6 separate regions of the Homo sapiens genome follow, and all the other regions are linked to region 1. The links are contacts of gene promoters, found by promoter capture Hi-C in blood cells and fetal thymus (Javierre and others, 2016). All regions are on one chromosome and are shown on one strand. Each heading gives the region's core, a stretch centred on a gene start or on the middle of the fragment in contact. The rest is flanking DNA. Distances are from core to core; before and after follow the strand shown. Region 1 holds the start of GTPBP4 (GTP binding protein 4). Region 2 overlaps LARP4B (La ribonucleoprotein 4B). Region 3 overlaps WDR37 (WD repeat domain 37). Region 4 has its middle 3.4 kb from the start of WDR37. Region 5 overlaps LARP4B (La ribonucleoprotein 4B). Region 6 overlaps WDR37 (WD repeat domain 37).

Region 1 (2,700 bases), core at 26-2,525:
TGGTTTAGCAAATGATCATAGCCAGCAAATCCTAATTACCCTAGAAGCTTCCTTTAGAAGTGCCACAAAGATGTAGGAGGTATGCTTATCCGCCTTGTGACACAAAAATGGAAGCATAGTTAATAGATGAGAAAAGCATGACCCAGAATGATTTTCAATATTGGAATGCTGGGAATTTATGAGAGGTATTTTCGCGTAAGAATAATAGGACTTGTTTAAAAGGATTGGAGAGTGGGGGGCATCCCAGATGCGTGAGAAGCAGTATAGCTAATGGTTAGAAGCAGGTTTGCTGGAGCCAGGCTGCCTGGGTTCAAAGCCCACCTCTGCTGCCTGTTAGCTTGTCAGCTGCACAACCACGGGGTGCTTTCGAGCCTTGTGTGCCTTTGTTTCCCCATGCACTTCATGAGGCTGTTGCAGAAATTAAACGAGTTAATATATAGTCAGCAGCTCTGAACACTGCTTGACTGAGTCAGCCCTACCTAACGTTTAATTTAAGGGATGTGGCCCTGGGTTCCCAAAGGGAGCGGCCACTCTATTCACAAACATAAAAGCAGTAAAGGCTCCATCCTCATCAACCTTCTCCTCAGTTGGACCCCACAGGACTGTCTCTCGCAACTGTTCCCTGGGCTCTCCTAAGGCACTGCGCGGAACCAGCTGCACCTCTTTTGCCTTAGATCAGGCTTTCCCTTCTCCGCCCGTTTTGGGATTTAACAAGCACGAGAAAGCAGGGCTGCAGGGAAGCCGCGAGGGCCTCCTCACCACGGCCCGGGATCAAGTCCCACGCGCGAGGCCGGGGTAGGGGCGTCATCTGCTCCACACCCAGAGGCTGGGCACGCCCCGCACGCGCGGCTTCCTCCTCCTTTGCGGGGCTCGCCGCGACCCAGGACCCCCAGACTCCCGGATCCCCTAGACCCTCTGGACTCCTAAGCCCCGCAACTCCCAAATCCCAAGACCCCGGACCCTCCAACCCTGGCCCAGGGCGCGTGGCTGGGGGCCTGAACCCGCTCCAGAAACCCGCAGGGCAGTCTGTCGGAAACCCCCGCTTTACTCAGCAGGAATTTAGTCTCCGCGCTCCCCCTAAAACCCGGGCGTCCTCTCCTCTGTACCCTCGCTCCTGAGGCCCTCACACGCCCTCCGTGGCTGACCTCCAAGCCGGGCGGGTGCGCTGTGCGACGCGGAAAGCGCCGTAGAGCACGCAGAACACGATTGGCTGAGCTCCCGGAAGTGACGTACCTCAACCGCCCGACAGTGGAAGTCCCACCTGCGCCCGACGGCGGAAGTTCCGGGAGTGCCAAGTACCCGCGTGCATACGGCTGCCGGCATGGCACATTACAACTTCAAGAAAATTACGGTGGTGCCGTCCGCCAAGGTAGGCGGCCCCGGGAGGGCCACTGCAACTTTCGCGTTCTCCTCAGCTGGGTCCCCGGGGAGGGTCCGGGCCTGTAGCCGTGGGAGAGCGGTCGCCTTCCGCTCGCCCATCCCCCGCTCCTGGGCCTGACCGTCTGGCCGCGTACTCGGGATCATTTCCCCTCCCCCAGCAGAATCCGGGGTCCACCAGAGATCGGATCCCCCAGAGACCGGGGTCCACCTAAGACCGTGGTCCACCCAAAGACTGAGGGCCCCCAGAGATGGGGGTACACCCAGAGTTGGGTTCCCTGGAGGGGCCCCGGGTGACGATGTGGGCGAGTGGAGGGGGACCCCGACATGTGAGGGAGGAAGCGTTCCGTGGTCCGTGATGAGCCTTCGGATTCTGGGTTTGGCGTAGCCCCCTCCCCTCTCAGGAATCCTGGGTTCGTTGTTCTCGTGATTTAACGTTTCATAATTTTTAAGTCATTCTCTTTCACTGTTAGATTTGGGAATACCTGTTCCTTTTCAGACCATAGTAGGCCCAGACTAAATTTTTACAGCGTTGGTTGGTGTGGCAAGAATGAGTCAACAAGTGTTGAGTATTAGGACTTTTTTTTTTTTTTTTTTTTTTTGAGACATAGTTTTTCGCTCTTGTTTCCCAGGCTGGAGCGCAGTCTCGGCTCACTGCAACCTCCACCTCCCGCGTTCAAGCGATTCTCCTGCTTCAGCCTCCCGAGTAACAGGGATTACAGTCGTGCACCACCACACCCAGCTAATTTTCGTATTTTTAGTAGAGACGGGGTTTCACCACGTTGGCCAAGCTGGCCTCGAACTCCTGATCCCGGGTGATCCTCCCGCCCCGGCCTCCCAAAGTGCTGGAATTACAGGCGTGAGCCACTGCGCCCGGCCCTAGTATTAGGACTTTTAAGAAGTCACGTTTTTATGTAGTGAACATTCGATTTGGGTCGCAATTACACAGACATTGACGGGCAACTGGAGCCTCCCAGGGACTCCTGCACGAGAGGGAGTTACTGAAGTCCCTGCAGAGTGACTGTTTTCCCCTCGTCAGTGCCTCCTTTTCTTCAGGTCTCAAGGACGGGATGAGCTTGCCTTGGAAAGCTTTGTGGGAGTCTCGTATTTTACCTTCATAGCAAAAGTTGTTTCCCCACTTCTCTCCACCATTTCTTATTTCTTCCTGACAGTTGTTCTGGCACATCTCTTGATCGATTGTAGTATTTTCTTTCTTTCTTTTTGAGATGGAGTCTCGCTCTGTTGGCCAGGTTGGAGCGCAGTGGTGTGATCCTGACTGCAGCCACCGCCTCCCAGGTTCAAGTGATTTTCCTGCCTCAGCCT
Region 2 (2,700 bases), core at 103-2,602, 110 kb before region 1:
GGTGGTAACAACCTGCCAAAAGGTCTAACCTGCAAGATTAACATACCAAGAGCAGCCACGTGTCACTTGCGTACAAATACAGGAGTTGGATATTTTCATAGAAATTCAAGCTTTCTGATTGCTAAGCCTACTCTTATTCAAAATATAGGCCTGCAATAATTAATCTGAATTGCTAATTAATAGTTATTCATTCAGAAGCTGTGTCATCAAAAGGCAAAGGTGGTTTTTTGAAAACTGATAAAGGAAGGGACTAAAGTTTTTTGGTATTACCATCTGTAAAGGAGTTTAAAAAAAAAAATTCTGGGCCGGGTGCAGTGGCTCAAGCCTGTAATCCCAACACCTTGGGAGGCCAAGGCGGGCAGATCACTTGAGGCCAGAGTTCGAGACCAGCTTGGGCAACATGGCGAAACCCCATCTCTACGAAAAATACAAAAATTAGCCAAGCATGGTGGTGCATGCCTGTAATTCCAGCTACTCAGAAGGCTGAGGCACAAGAATAGCTTGAACCCGGGAGGCAGAGGCTGCAGTGAGCAGAGATCGCACTACTGCACTATAGCCAGCCTGAGTAACAGAGTGAGGCTGACTCAAAAAAAAAAAAATCATTCTGATATAGATGTTTTGCTGAATTGTACATAGAGTTTAGTATGAGGATGAGTTAGATTTCCAATTTCAGATTTCCAGTTTCACACTATGATTAGAAAAGACTTGCTGTGACTTTGCATCTTTCTTCTGAGGAGGTAATTTAACATAAACACTTCTACCTAATATTACCTGTCCCTTAAACATCATCATTCACTCACATTCCTCTCTCAAACCTGCTGTTGATTTATGATAAAACACAAGAGGATCATTTCAACAGAAAATGGTTTCCAGGCTGATGTAGTGTCTCCAAGGGAAAAGCAGGTACTTGGCTGGTCGCACACAGGAGTAAGAACTGGAGTCCCTGAGTGGGCTTCAGGAGGGGCAAAAAGCCGCTGAGAATGATGTTTGCTATAGATGAAGTTTGTGGCGCTAACAGGGAAGGTAAAGAACCTTTAACCAAACGACACTGTTGCTGAATACCAGTGGTCAGATATTTTTTCTTCCTCAAGAAGGAGAACCCATCGCTGTGGCCCACTGCCAGTGGTCACTCTTCATCATAAACACCCTCAAAACCCTTTCAATCCCCTCTCGCCTTCTATCACCTTACCTTCAAAGCCAAGATCTTAGGAGGAATGTCACCGTCTAAGTTGTGTCTACCACTCCTGTCTCTCACCCACTGCAATCTGGCTTTTGCTCCTATCAGTCCTGGGAAATACTCTTGCTAAGGTCACAACTGACCCCTCGCTTTGTTACCTTACTACACTTCACTTGAGTCAGCCTCCCTGCCTCTATCTCCACCCCACACTGTCCTCTGGTTTTCCTCCCATCCCTCTGACCACTCCGCGTCCTAGATTCCTTCCTGTTTCTGATATATTGAGGGAATCGAGAGTTTCATCACTGTCCCTGCCTGGAACTCAGGTAAACTTAATGCAAAGTACTGTAATCATAACTATTGGTACGATATACTTCAAAATCAGTAGATCCTTATGACCTCAAGGTGAGAACATTCAAAATGACCTTGCTTGACTAGGGGCAAGATAAAGAGTGCTTCTTCTAGACTCACCTACGTCTCAGTGCCTCCCACCTCCAGGTGTACGCTCATCTTGTACCTAAGGCTCACACACAATGTGATCATGCAATCTTGCATGCTGTGTTAGGGCTCCTCGAAGACGTGTATCTCACGCTCATCTGAACAACCTCTCCATAGAAAATGTCTTAGCCATCATGATCACTTGCACTCAGTTTTGATGAATGGATGGATACTCAAATTTTATGCAGGCAGTACTAGCTGCTTGCCTACCAGACACAATGCATTGAGCTGGCCACAGAAGGGAACAGAATGTGGAGACACAGAGCATGTTTGTGCCTGCCCAAGGATGCTCCCATCCTTAGAGACAGGGCCTAACTATAAGTGGGCCTGGGGGTGGGCTGGGGGTTTAATGGGGTAATGTAAAAGTTCTAAGACTACATTATGGTGATGATTACACAACTCAGTAAATCTACTAAAAATAATTCAATTGCATACTTTAAATGGGTGAGTTTTACAGAATGTAAATTATACTTTAATAAAGTTTTTTTTTTTAATGAACAGAACACAGTACCAGAAGTTTACAGTTTAGTGGAGAAAACATGTACACAAATTTGAGTAATTCTGACAATCATGTCACTCATTATAATATATTGTTCTCATACTAAATAGGGAAACCATTTTTTTTTTTTTCTGAGACAGAGTTTCACTCTGCTGCCTAGGCTGGAGTGTGGTGGCACAATCTCGGCTCACTACAAGCTCTGCCTCCCAGGTTAACGCCATTCTCCTGCCTCAGCCTCCCGAGTAGCTGGGACTACAGGCGTGTGCCACCACACCTGGCTAATTTTTTGTATTTTTAGTAGGGACGGGGTTTCACCGTGTTAGCCAGGATGGTCTCGATCTCAGGGAAACCATATTCTTACAGTCTAATAGAGATCACTTTTTTGTGTTCTTTGGCTAACCCTGTAAATAGTTACTAGCTCAGTAAGCTTTTTGGAGAGGGCAGGAAGCTGTCTAATAAATACAACTAAATAGTACCAGTGGATAAATGCAAATCTGCTCCTGAATTATTCATGTATTTCTTTGGGTAT
Region 3 (2,722 bases), core at 221-2,720, 90 kb after region 1:
TTCGCCTTCCCAGGGGTGCGGGAAACACACAGGCATGAAGAGCGTGGCCTGGGCAGGAAATAAAAAGTTAATGTTTTCACTCAATTAATAGACATTTGGCTCTTTTTTGTGAAATTTTTCTTTTTTTCCTCTTCACAACACTCTTTTAGGTGTTATGTCGAGTGATGGGAGAGTGACTGTGCTTTTGCTTAAAGTGCAGTGGGTGTGGCGGGAACTCTGCAAAGGTGCCTCTTCCATGAGGGTCTAGCAGATTAAAATACTTGTAGGATAGCGTATGATGGCACTCAGAGGCTGTTTATAATAGTTCATTTATGGGAGCTGCCGCCTTTCTCTCCAAATTTGGAAGTTTTAAAATAAGGTAGGCTTATGTCCTCTCTTGTAAAGGGAAAAATTGTGTTATTTTGAAGGAGTGTTTATTTTCAAATCCCATATCATACTAGGTAGCCATTTATACAATTTGATTTATAGTCTCCTTGGCAGAAATTTGGAACTTTAAACTCTTTAAGCATTTTATATATAAAAATATGTAATAATACAAAATAAGAGTTTACAATAAAAGATAATTCACTTTGGAAAAAGCATATTTGTACTTAGAGTTTTTCATTCATTCATTCATTTTAAACAAAGTCTTCTTCTGCAGGATTCTAAACTGCCTTCCTCGGTTCGCAGTACACTTCTGGAACTGTTTGGTCAAATAGAAAGAGAATTTGAAAACCTTTATATCGAAAACTTAGAATGTGAGTATCTCCTATTTTAATATACTTTTATAGCTTTACCTATCCATAGTCAAATTTATGAATAGACATTCATCACTATATTAGTTTTCTGTTCTGCTGTAGCAAACTTAAACTTATTTTAGTGGCTTAAACTAACACAGATTTGTCATCTTGCAGTTCTGTGGGTCTGGTATAATTCCCACGAGGACTCCGTCTCAAAAGTAAATAAATAAAAATAAAAAATAAAAAATACATGGATCTTATCATTTTCCCTACACCAAGTACACCATAAATTGAGAAAACATTGATTTACTTTTTTATTAATATACCATCATTTGAAAATTGATGCATATACTATATCTGACTTATTAAAGACAAATCAAAACAATTTTGAATTAGCTTGGCTTTAATTTATCTTTTTTTTATTTTGGAAGTAATGGCCATATGTGCTTAAAAATTTATCAGACAGTATAAAAAGAAATCTACCATTACCCCTCAAGCCCATCGCACTCTTCAAAGGAAGACATTTTCTGCATGTTTTTGCTTTTGGTTCTTTTGGTGGTTAGTCCTGTGAATGTAAGTAATCATCTTCTGGTTTTAGATCTATCCGCTTTAGTGTTAATGCTTCACAGTGAAATAAACAGGTCCTTTGCGCTGCTCTATTACTTTCCAGTTTTTCTCCTTCAGGGTTTGTGTTTGTAAAATTTATATATATAAAGACAGGGTCTCACTGTGTTGCCCAGGCTGGTCTCAAACCCCTGGGCTTAAGTGGTCTTCCCACCTTGGCCTCCCAAAGTGCTGGGATTATAGGTGTGAGCCACCACACCCAAACTATAAAATTTGTACTAGACAAATGTAACTACAATCAAGTCTTTCATGCTTTATCTACAGGTTGATTCCAAAGGTTGAATACTAACAAAGAGCATTTCCATTGTTAAGCTGTTTTTCACTCTGTAACTAAGTGGTGTGGTTGGATGAATAATGAAGAGAATATAATCCTCTGTCATTTAAACTTTGCTTTTGGAAATTTTAATGTTAATACTGGATTCTCCTTTTTAAAGAGTCCACCTTTACAATTCATAGAGGGAAAAATCATTTCAACTTTTTTGTTTTTTTTTTTGAGACAAAATCTTGCTCTGTCACCTAGGCTGGAGTGCAGTGGCGTGATCTGGGCTCACTGCAACCTCCGCCTCCCAAGTTCAAGCGATTCTCATGCCTCAGCCTCCCAAGTAGCTGGGATCACAGGCACCCACCACCATGCCTGGCTAATTTTTGTATTTTTAGTAGAGAAGGGGTTTTGCCATGTTGGCCAGGCTGGTCTTGAACCCCTGGCCTCAAGTGATCTGCCTGCCTCGGCCTCCAAAATTGTTGGGATTACAGGCATGAGATACTGTGCCCAGCCCAGAATAATGTTTTTAATCGTGCAGAATCAATCACTATGGAAACTATGTTGAAATGCGGGTGCTGTCTTTGAGACCCTGATAGCAGTGTCTTCCACAGTGTAGCAAGTGTGTGAGCTTTTACTTTTGGAATGGTATCTCTAATGGTTTCTTTCTTTCTTTTTTTTTTTGAGATGGAGTGTCACTCTGTTGTCCAGGCTGGAGTGCTGTGGCGTGATCTCGGCTCACTGCAATCTCTGCCTCCCGGGTTCAAGCAATTCTCCTGCCTCAGCCTCCTGAGTAGCTGGGATTACAGGCATGCACCACCACGCCCGGCTATTTTTTGTATTTTCAGTAGAGACACCCTGTTGGTCAGGCTGGTCTCAAACTCCTGACCTCGTGATCCACCTGCCTTGGCCTCCCAAAGTGCTGGGATTACAGACGTGAGCCACCTCACCCAGCCTCGAATGGTTTCTTTAGTTTTTTGAGAACTCTATGAATTGTGATCTTGCTTATTAGAATATTATTCATGTCTTTGTTTATATAACACTAATATATAGCATTTTTTCTGTGTGCGAGTTTTGGAAGTGGTGAGTACACTTAAACATAAAAACATACTTTAGATTT
Region 4 (2,762 bases), core at 199-2,698, 65 kb after region 1:
TTCCTGGAGACAACAATCATAATTCAGCATGTAGCAGAAGTGCTTTATGTGCATTTCCCATTTTGTTATAGAGAATATTAGATGAGTACTGAATGGTCGAGATGATTAAAGTTAATATTTTTTACTGCTAACCATCAGCTGAGCCTTCAATGAGTCATAATCTTTTTGCTGGTGGAGGGTTTTGCCTCAATGTTGATGGCTGTTGATCAAGGTGGTGCTTGAAAGTTGGGGTGGCTGTTGCAGTTTCTTAAAATAAGACAATAATGAAATTTGTCACGTTGATTGACAATTCTTTTCATGAAAGATTTTTTTTAAACCACAGGAAAACTTTTTTTTGAGACAGAGTCTCGTTCTTTCGCCCAGGCTGAAGTGCAGTGGTGCGATCTTGGCTCACTGTAACCTCCACCTCCTGGGTTCAAGCAATTCTCCTACCTCAGCCTCATGAGTAGCTGGCACTATGGGCGTGTGCCACCATGCCCGGCTAATTTTTGTATTATTAGTAGAGCTTGGGTTTCACCATGTTGGCCAGGCTGGTCTTGAACTCCTGACCTTGTGATCTGCCCACCTTGGCCTCTCAAAATGCTGGGATTATAGGCATGAGCCACCGCACCCGGCCAGGAAAACTTCCAAAGTTAGAGTCAATCCTCTCAAACCCTGCTGCTACTTCATAAACTAAGTCTATGGAGTATTCTGAATCCTTTGTTATCATTTCAACAGTGTTCACATCTTCACCAGGATTAGGTTCCATCTCAAGAGACCACTTTCTTTGTTCATCCACAAGAAGCAACTGCTTATCCATTCATGTTTTATTATGCTAGTGCAGTGATTCAGTTACATCTTCGGGCAGCCATAGCCTTACAAAATGTATTTCTTAAATAATGAGACTTGAAAGTCAAAATGACTTCTTGAGCTATGGGCTGCAAAAGGGATGTTGTGTTAGCAGGCATGAAATCAACATGAATCTCCTTGTATATCTCCATCAGAGCTCTTGGGTGAACAGGAGCACTGTAAATCAGCAGTAATATTTTGAAACGAAATCTTTTTTTTTTCCTGAGCAGTAGGTCTCAACAACAGTGGGCTGACAATATTTAGTAAACCACACTGTGTAAGTAGATGTGCTGTCATCTAGGCTTTGTTGTTCTATCTACACAGCAGAGGCAGACTAGAATTAGCATAACGCTTAAGGACTCTAGGATTTTCAGAATGATAAATGAGCACTGGCTTCAACATAAAGTCATCAGCTGCACTAGCCCCCTAGCAAGGGTCAGCCTGTCCTTTGGAGCTCTGAAGCCAGGCTTTGACTTCTCCTCTCTAGTTATGACAGTCCTGGGCGGCATCTTTTCCCAAAATAAGGTTGTTTCAACTCCAATGAAAACCTATTGTTTAGCAAAGCCGTCTTCATCAGTGATCTTAGGTAGATCTCCTAGATGACTTGCTGCTTTATCTTGCACTTGCACATTTTTTTTTTTGAGATGGAGTCTCACTCTGTTACCCAGGAGTGTGGTGGTGTGATCTTGGCTTACAGCAACCTCCAACTCCTGGGTTCAAGTGATCCTCCTGCCTTAGCCTCCTGAGTAGCTGGGACTACAGGCGTGTGCCACCACACCCAGTTAATTTTTGTATTTTTAGTGGAGGCAGGGTTTCACCATGTTGGCCAGGCTGGTCTTGAACTCCTCACCTCAAGGGATCCACTTGCATTGGCCTCCCAAAGTGCTGGAATTACAGGCATAAGCCACCATGCCTGGCCTATCTTGCACTTTTGTATTATAGAGACAGCTTCTTTCCTTCAACCTCATGAACCAACCTCTGATAGCTTCAGATTTTTCTTCTGTAGCTTCCTTACCTCTCTCAGCCTTCAGAAAACTGAAGAGAGTTAGGGCCTTACTCTGGATTAGGCTTTATCAGAATATTGTGGCTGGTTTAATCTATACAGACCACTCAGAGTTTCTCCATATCAGCAATAAAGCTGTTTTATTTTCTTACCATTTGTGTATTCACTGTAGGAGCACTTCAAATTTCCTTCAAGAACTTTTCCTTTGCATTCACGACTTAGCTGTTTCAACATGCCTTCCTCACCATGCTTAATCATTAATCATTTCTAGTTTTGATTTAAAGTAAGAGATGTGCAACTCATTCTTTTATGAAACAGTAGCCATTTTAGGGCTATTAATTGCCTGATTTTTTTTTTTTTTTGAGTCAGGGTCTTGCTTTGCTGCCCATGCTGAAGTGCAGTGGCGTGATCACAGCTCACTGCAGCCTCGAACTCCTAGGCTCAAGCAATCCTCCTGCTTCAGTCTCCCAAGTAGCTGGGACTACAGGCATGAGCCACCACCATGCCTGGCCCCTAATTTCAGTATTGCTGTGTCTCAAGGATAGGGAGGTCTGAGCAGAAGGAGAGAGATAGGGAGGCAGCTGGTCAGTGCAGTGGTCAGAACACATAAAACATTTATCGACTCAGTTTGCTGTCTTATATAGGGGTGGTTCATGGTGCCCCCCAAGCAATTATGACAGTAATATCAAAGATCACTAATCACAGATCACTATAACTGATTTAATAACGGAAACATTCCAAGAATTACCAAAATGTGAGAGAGACATGAAGTGAGCACATACTGTTAGAAAGATGGTGCTGACAGACTTGCTCCATGCAGGGCTGCCACAAACCTCCACTTTGTAAGAAACATATGATACCTGTGAAGTGCAATAAAGTGATACACATGAAAACAGTTGTGCCTGTTACATGACATATATACACACATATA
Region 5 (2,765 bases), core at 71-2,570, 86 kb before region 1:
GCACAATCTCAGCTCACTGTAACCCCTGCCTCCCGAGTTCAAGCGATTCTCCTGCCTCAGCCTCTCGAGTAGCTGGGACTACAGGTGCACGCCACCACGCTTGGCTAATTTTTGTATGTTTAGAGAGACGATGTTTCACCACACTGGCCAGGCTGGTCTCGAACTCCTGACCTCATGATCTGCCTGCCTCAGCCTCCCAAAGTGCTGGGATTACAGGTGTGAGCCACCAGCGCCTGGCCTCTTTTTTTTTTTTTTTTTGAGACGGAGTCTTGCTCTTTTTGCCCAGGCTGGAGTGCAATGGCACAATCTCGGCTAACTGCAACCTCTGCCTCCTGGGTTCAAGCGATTCTCCTGCTTCAGCCTCATGAGTAGCTGGGATTACAGGCACCTGCCACCACGCCCGGCTAATTTTTTGTATTGTTAGTAGAGACGAGGTTTCACCATGTTGGCCTGGTTTCGAACTCCTGACCTCCTGATCCACCCGCCTCGGCCTCCCAAAGTGCTGGGATTACAGGAGTGAGCCACCGCACCCAGCAGAAGGATATATTTCTTAACAGAAATTTTCATTATGATTCCCACGTGCATATCTAAATAGAGAAGTGCAGAAAATAAAATACAATAGGAATTCTAGTTCCTCATCCATCTGCCTTGTGCTGTTAGTTGGATGATATGGTTTATCTCACGGCTGCCAGCACCACTCTGTAATATTTGAAATGCACATTTTTATCTTACAATAGAATAATGTGAGAGCACCTTAGGGCAGATTATTTTATGTTCCTTCCATGTACCTTATACACATCATATACTCAAGTGAATCTGTAAGCTTGAATAGTGGGAACATTTACAGAGCAACAGACTGCTGCTTCCAACAAAACTGTTATTTTAGTCTTTTGTTTTTTTCAAGATTCAGTATCTCTATGATATTCCATTCTTTTCGTTTCATGTTCTTATAGTAAGTGTGTCACTCAAAGATACTGACGGATAAAAGAAATGCGTCCAATCTCAGTAGAGTAGTTGTTTATACATTTAAACTGGCACTCAGCACTGGAGTATTCCTAAGGAGATGTTGCCAATAAATTTCAAGACTAATTTTGTAAAATGTCCTTTATATGTGTACATCGGTGCTTCTACTGAAAAAAACAGCAGTGAGAAAATGTGAGTTTTATTTATAGTTTGAGTTGGTTCTCCTCCTAAGGAGGACATAATCAGACACAAGATACAAAAACTTATTTGTTAGCAAGATCTGATTGAAAAAGTACCTACATGAGAAGACCACCAAATAATATACTTTCAAAATCTTCCTGATTTTAAATTTAGAACGTGTCTACTAAGTCGACACACAAAAAAAGGACAACGGTCCCCTCCACCGTTAAAGCCTGTGACTGGGTCTACGACATTATCTTCTGGAGAGTACAATCTTTTGAAAAGACCATTTTAGCTAGGATTCTTACTAAAACATAATACAAAACAACCACCGAAACTGGAGTTTAGATCATCTCATTAACCCTCTGGCTAGGAGAGCATTTTACTCATTAAACCTTTGACGAACTCAAAAACCACCACTCTAATACTTGGTTGTAAAGAAGCTGAAATAAAGTATCTGAACCAAATGCACAGAACATTGTTTTGCACAAGCCCTAAGCTGCAGCAGTGCGAATCATGGCCCTCGGAGTACCACTTCTTGCTTTTATCCCGTGCTACACCTTTCCCAGTAAAGAGCTTCTTAGGAAGGGTTTCCACACCTTTTCACACACTTTCACAAAGGGAAAAGCAAATGGAAAAGTTGACAACTACATTAGGAGTATCTTTTTAGGACACAAGCTTAGCTAATTCACACAGCTTCCTTTGTCAAATACTGGACTACCAAGAAGCATCAAAACCAAAATCTGCAGTCTAAGCAGGGCACAGCTGCAGCACGTTCACTTCATTTAACCTCAAGTTGAAGCAGAAACATAAAATCTTTTTTTTTTTTTTTTTTAATTTTGAGATAGAGTCTCACTCTGTTGCCCAGGCTGGAGCGCAATGGTGCCATCTCAGCTCACTGCAACCTCCACATCCCAGGTTCAAGTGATTCTCCTGCCTCAGTCTCCCAAGTACCTAGGATTGCAGGTGTGCACCACCACACTCAGCTAGTTTTTGTATTTTTAGTAGAGACAGGGTTTCACCATATTGGCCAGGCTGGTCTCAACCTGACCTCAAGTGATCCCGCCCACCTCGGCCTCGAAAAGTGCTGGGATTACCGGTGTGAGCCACGGTGCCTGGCATAAAATCTTTTTAATACAGATGTTAAATTACCTGGTTGAAAAGCTAGTTGTCTCTTTTGTCTAGTCTGTTTAGAATATATTCTAACCTCCATTTTTCTGTCCATCAGCATTTTATTCCATTAGAAATTACTTCTCATGTTGAGAATGTCAACCTGGACAAACAAGATTCAACCTAACCTGGCAGGATGTGTGCTGGATGCCCAGGAAGCCTCTCCTGACTTGCAAGCGTCCCCTACTTCCACTCTTCCACATCCTTCAGACCCACCTGCTCACTGCTGCACTCAGGCTCACTTATGCCATCTCTCAGCCATGGACTGATCTCGCAGATGGCAAACAAAGTATACCCAGAGTCCAGAGGAGGAAAAGGCAACTTCCTGTTGATGTTTCACATGCAATCTTACCTTTTGGACAAAGAGCAGAACTGCCTGATTCAATCTTTTATAATTTACTTTTACCTTAAGGAATTGCATATATAAACTTATCTTACTGCACGGCTTTAAT
Region 6 (2,848 bases), core at 159-2,658, 110 kb after region 1:
AGCCAGTTGACAGGGAGGCGAGTGTGGGTGGGAGCCACAGCTTTAAGCACCCACCGCAGCAGGATCCAGGACTGGAGATGGGATTATACCCAGAGACCCCGCCAGCTTGAACCAGAGGGGACATGGTGGGGACAGAATGAAGGAAGGCATCAGACTGCTGGGATTCCACAGCACAGAAACCAGAGCTGCCTGGGCGAGAACCTTTACCACCCTTCAAGATGAGGGAAGAATGCCCCGAAGGTGATTCTGAGGTTGGCAGGGCTGCAGCTCTCACTGCAGTCCCAGGACAAGAGCCTGTTTCTTCCTTGGTTTCGAAGTGTGGGAGCCTCCTTGGTTTCAGGGCCAGGTTGCCCATGGTCCAGTGCTGTGGGGGTGGGGTTGCCAGGCTGAGCCAAGGGGGTGACACCTCTGCCCCAGCATGCCTGGAGGGTGGCGCATCCAGACCAAGAGGGACTCTCTGGAGCCTGAAGAGCTCGTGGAGTTTGCCTTGTGGGGTTTTGGACTTGCTTGGGCCCCACCACCCTTTCCCTGTTGCCTCTTTCTCTCTTTTGGAAAGGGAGCGTCTGTCCAGTGCCTGCCCTACTGTTGTATTTTGGGAACATGTAACTTGTTTGGGTTCCGTGGTTTACGGCTGGAGGGGAGCTCAGCTTCAGGGTGGGCGAATCGCACTCTGAGTCCCACCCAGTCCTGATTCAGGTGATGTTTTGTTGAGACTTGGGACTTCACACCTTAGCGCTGATGCTGGAATAAGACTTCTGGGGCTGTTGGGATGGGATGACTGTATTTGCCATGCAAGAAGGATATGAATTTGGGGGAGGCCAGGGACAGGATGTTCTCAACTGAATGTCTCCGTCCCCCAGAAATCTGTGTTGAAGCCCTAACCCCCAGTGTGGCTGTATTTGGAGATGGGGCCTCTGAGAAAGTGGTTAAAGCAAAATGAGGTAGTGGAGGGGATGCCCTGATCCCATAGGATGAGTGTGTCCTTGTCAGAAGAGACACCAGACAGCTCACCCTTATGGCTGCCCTTGTGTGTGCACGCTCTCTTTCTACCCCCTCCCCATCTGTCCGTTTTTTTTTTTTTTTTTTTGAGATGGAGTCTCGCTCTGTTGCCCAGGCTGGAGTGCAGTGGCGTGATCTTGGCTCACTGCAACCTCCACCTCCCGGGTTCAAGGGATTCTCCTGCCTCAGCCTCCCGAGTAGCTGGGACCACAGATGCGTGTCACCACACCCAACTAATTTTTGTATTTTTAGTAGAGATGGGGTTTCACCACGTTCGCCAGACGGTCTCAATCTCTTGACCTCGTGATCCGCCCTCCTCGGCCTCCCAAAGTGCTGGGATTACAGGCGTGAGCCACCGTGCCCAGCCTCTCTGTGCTAATATTAATAGAAGAGCCCCTGTGGGCACGCGGCAGGATGGCGGTGCCACACACCGGAAGAGGGGACTCACCAGAAGCTGCACTGGTTGACACGTTGGTCATGGACTTAGAGTCTCCAGAACTGGAAGATGACTAATTTCTGTTTTTGAAGCCTTTTGGCCTGTAGTCTTGTGTTTTGGCAGCCTGCGTTGAATGAGACAGTGCCTAGAAAGATGCTCCTTCACCTCTGTATGCATGCATCTGCTCCATCCTTCCTTTCAACAGACAGTAAACATTTACCGTCCACTCTCTTACAGTTGATGTTTGGATCCTGTTTCTCACTGTTTCATCTGTTTAATATTAGACATCTGGTGTATCTTTCATGGACGTTTATCATCACATCAACTAATGGCCTTTATGACATCAATTTTATGTGGTTCACATTTAAACGTAGGTAACAAAAGATGTGTATTGAGAAGAATGAATTCATGTATTTATACCATAAATTCATAAAATTCTTCACTTACTGTTTGCCTTGTGCTCTCTGCAGTAGCCCAGTGCCCTATGTTTATGATCACAAAGAGGCCTGAATGTTTCTCTGAGAGCAGTTATCTCCCTAGTTTCAATGACAGGATAAATGTTAGTGGCGTGATCTTCCCACGTGCTCAGCCCCCCCAGTTCGGTGCCTGAACAGGTGGGAACAGTGCCAGGCAGACAGTGTAAATGACGTCCACGTCTAGAAGTTTCAGTTTGTATTGGGCTGTGATTGTTGCAAGGATGAAAGTAATCTAGTTTTGATATTTTCATCTTGGAATATTCCTTGAGTTTTCTGCTTTGTGAACATTCTAAACACTGTTCTATGTGGAGATAGTTAAGCAGTTAATAAATTCCAGTGATAAATGAGTTTTCTTTAGTCCTAATAGAGGTTATCATAGTTCATTTTTAACTGCATGTATTGTGTATTAACACAGTTTTGTTCTCTTTGTGGAATTGCCAGACTATTCATTATGTAGCGCATAACACTGTCCACTAACACGCACATTTAGTGATGAAACAAGTGAAATGTGTGCTGATGGTGGGCGTGGTGGAGAGGTGAGGAGGGTGAGCATTGATGCTTAGGAAATTCAGCGTGTGCACTGATGGTGTGGCGGAGACGTGAGGAGGGTGAGCATTGATGCTTAGGAAATTCAAAATGTGCACTAATGGCGGGCATGGTGGAGAGGTGAGGAGGGTGAGCATTGATGCTCAGGAAATTCAAAATGTGCGCTGATGGCGGGCGTGGTGGAGTGGTGGAGAGGTGAGGAGGGTGAGCACTGATGCTCAGGAAATTCAAAATGTGCACTGATGGTGGGCGTGGTGGAGAGGTGAGGAGGGTGAGCATTGATGCTCAGGAAATTCAAAGGAGTTAATGTATGGATTGTTTTCCAAATAAAATAAGAAAAACACTAATTTTGTGAGAGGGAAGATTCATGTCCAGTACTTACATTAAAAAC

The links. Contacts are between HindIII fragments. The CHiCAGO score rates a contact against its expected background, and 5 or more counts as called.
Region 2: a contact is called between a fragment that was not itself captured here and the fragment with the promoter of GTPBP4 in region 1, in 5 of 17 cell types (monocytes, M2 macrophages, M0 macrophages and 2 more). The highest score is 13.0, in monocytes.
Region 3: a contact is called between a fragment that was not itself captured here and the fragment with the promoter of GTPBP4 in region 1, in 7 of 17 cell types (neutrophils, monocytes, naive CD8 T cells and 4 more). The highest score is 20.5, in neutrophils.
Region 4: a contact is called between a fragment that was not itself captured here and the fragment with the promoter of GTPBP4 in region 1, in 15 of 17 cell types (neutrophils, monocytes, fetal thymus and 12 more). The highest score is 32.6, in neutrophils.
Region 5: a contact is called between a fragment that was not itself captured here and the fragment with the promoter of GTPBP4 in region 1, in 12 of 17 cell types (monocytes, neutrophils, M2 macrophages and 9 more). The highest score is 29.1, in monocytes.
Region 6: a fragment that was not itself captured here is called in contact with the fragment with the promoter of GTPBP4 in region 1 in 2 of 17 cell types (neutrophils and monocytes); the score reaches 11.9 in neutrophils.

What each region holds. Positions count from the first base shown.
Region 1 is chr10:987,159-989,858 of GRCh38, forward strand. It overlaps GTPBP4 (GTP binding protein 4), which reads left to right and starts at 1,276. Exons shown (of 17, transcript NM_012341.3): 1 at 1,276-1,369. The coding sequence starts at 1,322. It also overlaps a transcript of LARP4B not described here. The HindIII fragment of the contact is 2,419 bases long and covers 46-2,464 here.
Region 2 is chr10:880,102-882,801 of GRCh38, forward strand. The region is part of intron 3 of LARP4B (La ribonucleoprotein 4B); the gene reads right to left. Among named protein-coding and RNA genes, the nearest start is that of LARP4B, 50 kb to the right of the region's middle. The HindIII fragment of the contact is 2,488 bases long and covers 109-2,596 here.
Region 3 is chr10:1,077,267-1,079,988 of GRCh38, forward strand. It overlaps WDR37 (WD repeat domain 37), which reads left to right. Exons shown (of 14, transcript NM_014023.4): 3 at 641-737. Among named protein-coding and RNA genes, the nearest start is that of WDR37, 22 kb to the left of the region's middle. The HindIII fragment of the contact is 5,962 bases long and covers 1-2,722 here.
Region 4 is chr10:1,051,555-1,054,316 of GRCh38, forward strand. It overlaps a transcript of IDI1 not described here. Among named protein-coding and RNA genes, the nearest start is that of WDR37, 3.4 kb to the right of the region's middle. The HindIII fragment of the contact is 5,007 bases long and covers 1-2,762 here.
Region 5 is chr10:900,679-903,443 of GRCh38, forward strand. The region is part of intron 1 of LARP4B (La ribonucleoprotein 4B); the gene reads right to left. Among named protein-coding and RNA genes, the nearest start is that of LARP4B, 30 kb to the right of the region's middle. The HindIII fragment of the contact is 998 bases long and covers 822-1,819 here.
Region 6 is chr10:1,097,259-1,100,106 of GRCh38, forward strand. All of the region lies in intron 9 of WDR37 (WD repeat domain 37), which reads left to right. Among named protein-coding and RNA genes, the nearest start is that of WDR37, 42 kb to the left of the region's middle. The HindIII fragment of the contact is 3,550 bases long and covers 1-2,848 here.